Linked DNA regions of Homo sapiens: region 2 is linked to region 1. Evidence: promoter capture Hi-C in 16 types of primary human blood cells and fetal thymus (Javierre and others, 2016). All regions are on one chromosome and are shown on one strand. Each heading gives the region's core, a stretch centred on a gene start or on the middle of the fragment in contact. The rest is flanking DNA. Distances are from core to core; before and after follow the strand shown. Region 1 holds the start of NLGN3 (neuroligin 3). Region 2 overlaps SNX12 (sorting nexin 12).

Evidence for each region. The method cuts DNA at HindIII sites, captures the fragments that hold promoters and counts their contacts. A CHiCAGO score of 5 or more calls a contact.
Region 2: a contact is called between a fragment that was not itself captured here and the fragment with the promoter of NLGN3 in region 1, in 2 of 17 cell types (monocytes and total B cells). The highest score is 5.7, in monocytes.

Annotation. Positions count from the first base shown.
Region 1 is chrX:71,143,545-71,148,273 of GRCh38, reverse strand. It overlaps NLGN3 (neuroligin 3), which reads right to left and starts at 3,433. Exons shown (of 8, transcript NM_181303.2): 1 at 3,310-3,433; 2 at 68-724. The coding sequence starts at 524. LOC124905197 (a long non-coding RNA gene) reads left to right here. Exons shown (of 4, transcript XR_007068262.1): 4 at 4,647-4,729. RefSeq lists enhancers at 1-240, 241-787 and a silencer at 2,362-2,617. The HindIII fragment of the contact is 4,718 bases long and covers 1-3,663 here.
Region 2 is chrX:71,056,893-71,061,440 of GRCh38, reverse strand. SNX12 (sorting nexin 12) reads left to right here. Exons shown (of 4, transcript NM_013346.4): 4 at 323-2,194. The coding sequence ends at 425. Among named protein-coding and RNA genes, the nearest start is that of SNX12, 9.2 kb to the left of the region's middle. The HindIII fragment of the contact is 1,579 bases long and covers 900-2,478 here.

The sequences.
Region 1 (4,729 bases), core at 2,184-4,683:
GCAAGCCACAAACACAGCAGGGCAGGCGGGAGGCAGGGAGGGCACAGTGCCTGGCCGCAGCACTCACCATCCTCCGTCGGCACATAGACGTTCAGGTAGAGACAGTCTTCGTTGGGCTCCTGGATGTAAGTAGCGACGATATCCAAGTTGGCAGTGAACCAGACCGGCAGCATGACTTCGGGCACAGCTGTGTGGATGTTCTGGGGGCACACTGGGGGAAAGTGTGTGGCGTTCCGGATGCCCGACCAGGATGGGGGTGGTTCAGGGGGCAGGAAACGTTTCTCGCCGATCGGGGGAGCTGCGTAGGGCACCCCCAGGTATTGGTCCACAGGCCCCAGGATCTCACTGGGCAGTGGTACTCGGGCACCCCTTAGCTTCCCAAAGTGAGTGTTGACTGTGGGTGCTGGGGCCTGGGTACTGGCCCTCAGCGCCAAACTGAGGAACCACAGGGTGAGGCACAGGCTCCTGCCAACCGTGGGCTTGGGGCTCAGGGACAGCGAGGGCGGGCCAAGCCGCAGCCACATGTTCCGGGCAGGGGGACTGGCAGGAGAGGCAGACTCCAGGGTCACAGCATCAGCCCAATAGGCAGCCCCTTCATGGCCACACTGACTTGAACCTCAAAACTGAGCTCTCGAGGGACACCTACAGGTGCCCAGCAATGTAGAGAGCAGGTCGTCCAAGCACCACAGCTTCAGAAAGGGGACTCCCTCAGGGCCAGACAGGCCTGTGGAAAGAGGGAAGTATGCGTCATCCAAGATGGTCTGGGAGGGCAACAGAGTTGGTCTTTGGGGGCCCTGCTGGGCTTGGGCTATTCTCTTATAGGTAGGAGAGGTTTCACATGCCCAGGGGCCCAGGGACTGTGATCCCACAGATGATCCACTGCCAATCAGAACCATTCTATGTGCCTGGCCATGGCTGGAAAATCCAAGGGGTTTGACAGTGACAGTTGTTGCCACTGCAAGTTCCCGGTGCCCAACTTCAATTCTACAGCCAAAGGGGTTCATCAGGGTCGGCTGGAGCCAGAATAGCATGTGACAGCCAGGGGGTGGGGAGAAACAAAAATGGAGCTCAGGTCCCTGGGCATGCTGCTTGAACAGAGCTGTGTAGCCCTTGGGACCTGGTAAGCCCACACAGGGACCTCCACTTCAGGACAGGGTGGGATTGTCAACCTCACTCCGGGACACTAAGACACAAGAACAGAAAGCAGCAAATCGGCAGAGTCCCACAGAGAGACTCCCTCACCCTCAGGCAGGGCAGAGGGCGGGACAGCCATTCACGGGAGTCCTCCTCGGACCCTCCTGCGCCCCTCCTGTACATTTCTCCTCAGCCCTCACTGCTCCCAAATCCTTAAGCCTTGGTCCTTTCGGTTGGCTCTCTCTTAATTCACACCGAATTCCAGAAGTGAGGCAGAAAGAGTTCTGCCTAGCACCCTAGGCATTGTGGATGCTCTTCCGGTGTATTATAAAATAAACAACGGAGCATGGGGAACACATATTCAGAGACTCATAGAAATAAACTCACAAAGACTCAAAGAGGGAATGAGAGAGACCAAGCCAGGATCACAGACACTGCGATATTCACTCACAGAGACATATATTCCAAACCCACAGAGATCCCCTCATATAGTCCCACATTCTGAGACAGAGCACCTCACACAGCCAGAGCCTCACAGAATGATACATTCAGAGACACACATAGAGACTTACTGAAATATAATCACACATACCCGCATAGGTAAATATCCAGACACATGCAGCATAATGGTGACACATAGGTGGAGACAGAAACAGAAATAGCAACACACTCAGACACATAGGCCTTCTGACACAGTTACACAGTCAACACATAGACACAGGCACACACAGATACTCCCGCATGCTCCCGCACACACACGCACACACACGCACACCCACGCCACATGCACATTTAGTTTTCCTCCATTTCTCCCGCCTTCCCAGATTGCAGGCCTGCTCCTTTAAGAACTGGCTGAAGGGGTGGGGGAGGGAGATTGGGAACGCCCGGCAATCAGCCACCACGAGAGGGGAATGAGAATGTGTGTGTGTGTGTGTGTGTGTGTGTGTGTGTGTGTGTGTGTGTGTGTCTGTGTGTGTGTGTGTGTGAGAGAGAGAGAGAGAGAGAGAGAGAGAGAAGAAAAAGGAAGAGGAGGGAGGGCGGGTAAAGTGGCTAAAGGGGTGGGGGCTCAGAGGAAATGAGGAAATGGGGAGCAAAGTATGGGGGGTAAGATCCCAGACACTGCCCAGAATGCACCCGGGTGTGGGGAGGAGGGGAAGGGGAAGGAAGGGGTAGGAGTAGGGAGGTGGGGCAGGAGGGAGTGGGTGGGTGTGTGTATTGGGGGGGGCATAGTCCGCAGCTGAGTTCACACAATCCCCCCATTCACCGTCTCCATGGCAACTCCAGGGCACAGACCGCTCATTCACACAGCTTCCCCACCAGCAACCCCCCCACATTAACCCCCTCGGTGCTGCCCCCAACCCACAAATTCCATTAACCCTTTCGGGATGCCCTCCTCTCCAGTAACCCTTCGGCGCCAAATGCCAAATTCTCCTTTGAGTCAATTCCCTGCAGCCCCTCCCCCGTGAACACCTAGACAATCGGACCGACCCCCAAACGCCCTCTGTACCCTAGGACCCACTGTGAATCCCCAAGGCCAAGATCTCCATCCTGGTCCAACTTGCAATTTGGGAGAAGACAAGGGGAGGCAGCAATGCCGGGGATGAGAATGGCATCTCGGGGTACTTTTGGGGCTGCAGCGGTGCTGGGCGCGGGGCATTGTGCAGGAATGGACCAATATTGAGAACTGCAGTATTGGGGGCTACGAGGGCTTGGAATGGATTGGGGGATGGAGTTGCACTGGAATGGGGGAGGATAGGATAAAGGCCTCCATTGGGTGGGGGGGCTGCAGATAGTGGGGGAGGGAGCCTGGCTATGAGATGCTATGATGGAAGGGGGATGGGGCTGCACTGCAGGGGAGGGGGGACTGGCAATGTGCAATCCCGGGATGGGGCTGGGGGCCCTCAATAGGGGTATTTTGATGAGCATGCGGGATGGGCTGTGGAAATAGAGGGACCATGGGCGGGAGGATGTTAGGGATGCGGGATTTAGGGAGGAGGTAGAAGGGAGAACAGAAGCGGGGGAGGATCGGGGGTCAGGGGTACCGATGGAGAACATGGGGTTGAGAGGGATGGGGGCCACTGGCTGGGGAGTGGAGGAGCCTGGGATTGGGAGGGGTTAGGATGGGGGCAAGGTATGGGCAGCTAGAGGATGAGAGACCGGGGCAGGCGGCCTCACCTGTTCCCCGGGCTGCTGCAAGCGACTGAACCGGGCCACGGACCACCCATATCGCCTCCAGGCCAAGGGCTCCGCACCCGAATCCCCGAGATCAGCTCTCCGGCAGCCTGGCTGCTGTGCCCGCGCACCGAGGGGGCGCGCTGCGCGTTCCCGGACACGGGGGGGCGCGGTCCCTGCCATTAACTCCTTTTGTGCCAGAGATGGCTCAAGTCCTGGGGCATGGCCCAATTCCCCCCATGCTCAGGCACGTTCCGCTCCCTCTCTCTCACGCGGGCGCGCACACACACCTCAGATTGCAAGCTATCAGACAGGTGATCTTCCAGGGCAGCTAGCCCAAACTTTACCCGCAAAGCTTGAGACTTTGTCCCAAAGGGAGAAACTGAGGCACTGCCTGCAGGAACCCTCAGTCATACTACACAAAAACACACCTCCACCTCAATCAGCATCCCTTATTTCTCAGCGCCAGCACTACCCAAGCAGCAACCAGTGGGGCCACTCTGCTCTCATCCTGTCACTCTCCCAAAGGTCAATGCTGTTCCCTTCTGCTGCTTCTGCTGGGGCATGTCAGACTGTCAGCATGCCAGTTGTCTGACCATTTCAGTCTCTCCCCTCCAGGTTCAGTGTCTTTGTGTCTTGTGTTTTTGTATGTGGCGCACCTGCCATTTGTTTAGCAACCCCCAAGCCCCTCTGAATGTCCCTCATCCCAGCCAAGCCTGTACTCCTGTGGCTCCTCAGAATGTTTATGTCAGGATAGAATAAGTGAGAAGAAAGCTTCAGTCATGTTTGCCTTTACACTGTTGGGGAGTTCCATTCCTTGTGCACGCAACTCTTAAACTTGGTAAGTCCCATATAAGCAAGGGCTTCGTGGGCCTCAAAGAGGGCTATTTTATTTTTTATAACTTGGGTACTGATTGGTGCTCCTGGTTTTGCCAGCACACTAGACACTTCCCAGTAATAGGGTGCAACTATGGCTTGCATGTTATCCTTAAGTTGTCAAATCATCCTGTACCACCCACTCACAAGGCTGAGGCTGATCCTCTTCCAGCCCTAGCTAGGCAGGGCAGAAGACTCCAAGACTCCATTGTAGTAAACCAGTTGGCTCTCCTGGACAGCCTTGGATCTAGAACTCAAACTGGAAAGCAAGAGGGCGAGAATGGCCCTGCCGCAGCTCCAAATGTGACTCTGGGGCAACAGTTTTGAGTTTTCTCTACTGTAAAATGGGAGCGAGCAAGTCATCCTGGGTAACTGCCAAGGTGGGTCACGTGAGAACAGGCAGTTCTGGCAGTAGGGCAGAGAGAGAAAGGGTGCTTATTTTTACTGGTCTCTCTTCCTCCTAGAACCAAACGGTCCTTCCACGACCTATTCTATGATGGCACATGCCAATGGAGGGCAATTTTTCATCCAGGAATGTGACTCTCAG
Region 2 (4,548 bases), core at 440-2,939, 85 kb after region 1:
AATGGGTACCATGATGTGGTGCCAATTGTGTGGTGGGCTGACTGGACAGTAAAACTCCATTCCTTTGAGTAGGATTCTGATCCTGTGTGTCAGGGCCTGAGAAAGCACTGCATGTTGGTTATATCTAGGGATTTCCCTGTCTTGCCCCTCTATCCCCCGTCCCCTTTACAATATTAGGGTTGAGGTGGTACCCTACTGCTGTCCTCTACTGGCTTGAACCTCAGGGCTGACCTTGCCCTTCTTCCCCTGTCCACATCCCCATCCCTCTGCTAATTCTCTCTGATTCTGAATACTACTGATAACCATCCTGGTTTCTTTATAGAATTGCTGGGCACCCACTGGCTCAGAATGAACGCTGCCTACACATGTTCCTGCAAGAGGAGGCAATTGACAGGAACTACGTCCCGGGGAAGGTGCGCCAGTAGGAGCCCCTCTCACCACCTGCCCTCTACTTTCCTGCTGAAATGACATTGGTTTTTACACTAAGCCTCTCTCTGTCTTTGATCTGAAGTTGGCTGCCCATCTCCTGGCCTGATAGACTGTCTGGCATTGTGCTCCCTGGTACCTGACTACACCATGTGGGCACTCTGCTAGGATCCTCTTCTCTGAGGAGAGGTGGGAACCCACAGGCAGATGCCCTTTGCTTGGGGTTGGGGTGGGTGGGTGGGGGGATTAGACTGGAAGGCAATTTCTTGGGCATTTACCCATGCCAGAAGGCTAACCTGGGGGGAGGGGGGCGCTTGTGCTGGTGAGGCACTTGGATACATACTGATGCTGCAAGTTCAGGGGATTTTTCTTACTCTTAGGTTTAACCAAGAACACTGAGCAGGGAAAAACCCTGCCTTTCCTAACTGCATGTATTTTTTCCTTTTTGGAAAGGTGGTAGAGACTCAGAAGCTTTCCTTGTTTTCTTCAGGCCTGCTCCCAGTTTTCTTAACAGTTTCTTTTGTTGCTTTCTCTCTCCCTTGTTGCTTTCCATGGCAGTAATCCTCCTAGAGTCCAAGCAGTCTGTTGTATGGAGCAGGGTGTGTGGGTTTTCTGGGCCCATCATTATGGCTGCTTCAGAGTCAGAAGAAAGCCATAGGGCAGTAGGGGAGCTCCTATTGCCTAGCCCCTCTCCCTTTGTGGCTCCCACTCTAGCTGCCTATTTTTGCTCATCAGCTGGTGAGTCAGTATGGGCCAGCAGTTCTCCCTCCCTAAGCCCTTGCTACTTTATGGGTTAGCTTTGCAGGTTTGGTGGCTTGAGGGGTGGGGGCAACTCACCACTGCCAGGTAACTCCCTGAAGGGTGGGAGTGGATTATCTTCTAGGCTCTTACCCGCGGTAGGGAAGGGCATCAACACTGTCTTCCTTCCATTCTCCTTTCCCCCATCCCATTTAGTGCTGCCACAGGGCAGAAGCACACAAACCAACCACACAGTCTCTGACTTCTCCTAAGCACTTTGAGTTGTTGAATGGGGCTCAGGGGCAAGAGTTTTTGCTGCCCTCCCCAGCGTGGTCACAGGGTTATTGAACTGCCTGCACTTGTTTCTCATGCAACTCCAGCATTTTCCCCAGAAGTTGAACTATGGATAGCAGCTTGGTATGGATTTCCTAAATCTTAACATTTGAAGCAGCTTCTTGAGGCTGGCAACTATCCTGGTTTCTGTCTTGGAGGGGGTGGTTTGTTTGCTGGGGCCCAACGTCTGTCCCAAGTGGTGGGGTGAGAGTAAGTTAACTTTGGTGCCAGGTGAGAGGTGGGGGCTCTTTGCTTAGACTCCCTATCATGGAAAGATTGGAGTTTTCTATGCAGGGCACTGTGGAAAAGGATTGCTGATTCTGACTGACCCTGATCAGAGAGATTAGGATTGTATTTTGACATAGGATTTGGAACCCATCTAAATGTTGAAGTTCCCTGAGACAGCTCTCCAGCTGCTGAGCCTGCGCCAGGGGCTAAGCAGCCCCTAATGAGAGGCTCTGCTCCCTTTCCCACCTCGCCAATGTTGTTGTTGCTGCCTTTTTGATTTGTATCCTCTGTTATAGACATTTTTTAAAAACGATTTCCTCTTTCATTGTGCACAAGTGCTGAGAGTCTGAGGCCCCATTTCTGCTGTGTATATATATCCTGACTCGGGGCTTTTATTCAGCAAACTGTTCATTCTTCTGTCAGACAATGTCATATTCAACTCTGTTCATATTAAACCACTGTGAAGCAAGCCTCTGTTTTCCTGCTTAAGTTGTAAATTTAGTATTCTTTAGTGTCTAGGATATGCTGGGTATTATGCAGAAATCATACAGTGTGGCCAGTGTCCTGAGGTAATGTTTTGCATTTAAATTTTTTTAGAAAGCAGAATCTTAACTTATCTTAATGATATTTACCTATCCTTTTTGCAACTCACAACTGACTTTGTCACAGAGGTAATGCATCTGCTTGCAGGAAGTAGCTGTAGGCTCAGTACCTGTTGTTTGAGTCAGATTTAGCAGATTTGGTTTTTAAGCTTGTGGGTTTGTGCTAATTTGGGCAGAATATATTTATTATATATGTGTGTGTGTATGTGTGTATGTGTGTGTCTGCATATGTAATACATGTACATAAACACACATGCATGTGTTCATCCTCTGACACACCCACACAACACCAACAAACATTTCTTCTATAGGCTTTTTATCTCAACTGACACTGTTTTTTTTCCCAAATAAATTTGACACAGGCAGAAAGGTGGGTGAACTCTCAGAACTTTTGGTGGGTGGATATTCATCTGACCAGTGAGCTCTGAAATGGTTTCCCTACACAGAGTGGGTTTTGGCAAGGGTTGGAATGAGGGGAGGTAGCAGTCTTGTCATTTAGAAAATCAAAGCTAGTTTTGATGTAGCTCAACATGGAAAGAAGGTACAGAAAGTGATGTGTTCAAAACATTAGCAAATTAAGGCTGAATGTGGTTGGCTCATGCCTGTAATCCCAGCATTTTGGGAGGCTGAGGCAGGAGGATTGCTTGAGCCCAGGAGGTTGAGACTAGCCTGGGCAACAGAGTGAGACACTGTCTCTACAAAAAATTTCAAAAGAAAAAAAAAAAGGAAATTAATGTTACTTAGCAGTATTTGGTTCTAAGTAGAAGAGTGGGGGCTGTGAGGAAGTTGAGGTTTTTGGTAGTTCATGAATGAGATGACTAAAAATATCTGAGGGGATAGGGAAGAATGGGTATTTCTGTGAAATAAAGGAAAGGAAGGGTAAAGAGAGATGCAACCTTCATAGGCAGCAGTGTTAGAGAATGAACTGCAGAATAAATAGAAAAGCAGCTATAAAATAAAGTGTTAACAAAAATTTGGACAGATGACAACTCATTTAACAAGTGCTAATAGTCTTCTGTGTGTCTGGTCCTATGCTAACAGCAGGGCTGGGGATAGGGTGGAGTGGTTGTGGTACAAGTAAAATATGATATTACATTCTCTTTTTTCGTAGACCTTAAGAGTTCAGTTGAAGAGATGTTTAGCTGGGCGTGGTGGCTTATGCCTGTAATCCCAGCACTTTGGGAGGATTGCTTGAGCCCAGGAGTTGGAGACTAGCCTGGGCAACCGAGTGAGATCTCATCTCTACAAAAAAAAAAAAAAAAAAAAATTAAAAATCTGGCCAGGTATGGTGGCACATGATAGTCCCAGCTACTTGGGAGGCTGAAGCCGGAGGATTGCTTGAGCCCAGGAGGTTGTGGAGTGAGCCATGCAGTGAGCCATGATTGTACCACTGCACTCCAGCCTCAAAACAAAATGAAGAGATGTCTATACAAGGCAGGAAAATGCTAGAGACAGAGTAAGAGATTCAGGCACATCTGGTTAGTTGTCCAGTCTTTTTCTTTTTTAAAAATATCAGGCCAGGTAAATCTCCCTTGGATGTCAAATTGGCCATTTTGGCACATTAACTGGGCCAGGCAAGAATCCTAAATCCAAACCCTCTTACCCATTAACACTGAGGAGAAGCATACTTTTCTTTGATAAGGAATTCTAATTTACATGGGTATTTGCATGTTTACCACTAATTAATCCCCTTTATCTATAGTGCAGAAAGGGCTTAACCTTATGCTGGAACCTGGGGGACAGAGGCTAACGAAAAATTTTGAACATAGCTAGACCCAAAAGAAGTCTAAATCTTCACATTCCAAAGATGCCTTATCTACCCTTTGACCCATTCTTTGAGACAAGGAATTAAGCCAGTAAAGGTGGGAGAGGTGGATAACATTCAGGCTTCTCTGGAGTTGATAGTTATCCTACATGAGATACTTCTATGTTGAAGATATTCCTACTTCTATGTTGAAATATATGCTGTAATAATTTAAGTAAAATTACTTTCTTTTGTGGAAATGTAGAACAGCTGCTCACTGAAATGGATATTTCTTCATATCCTTGAAAACTGTTGAGTCACCCTTAGTATTCTCTTCTTAGATATAATAAGTTCTAATTTTTCCTTACTTGGCTCATTTTTAACCCTTTTATCTTTTTATTATTCTGAAATCTCTCCAAGGCCCTCACATGTCCTCAAGTTGTAGAGTCTTAAATTGGACAACACTTTAATTACAGC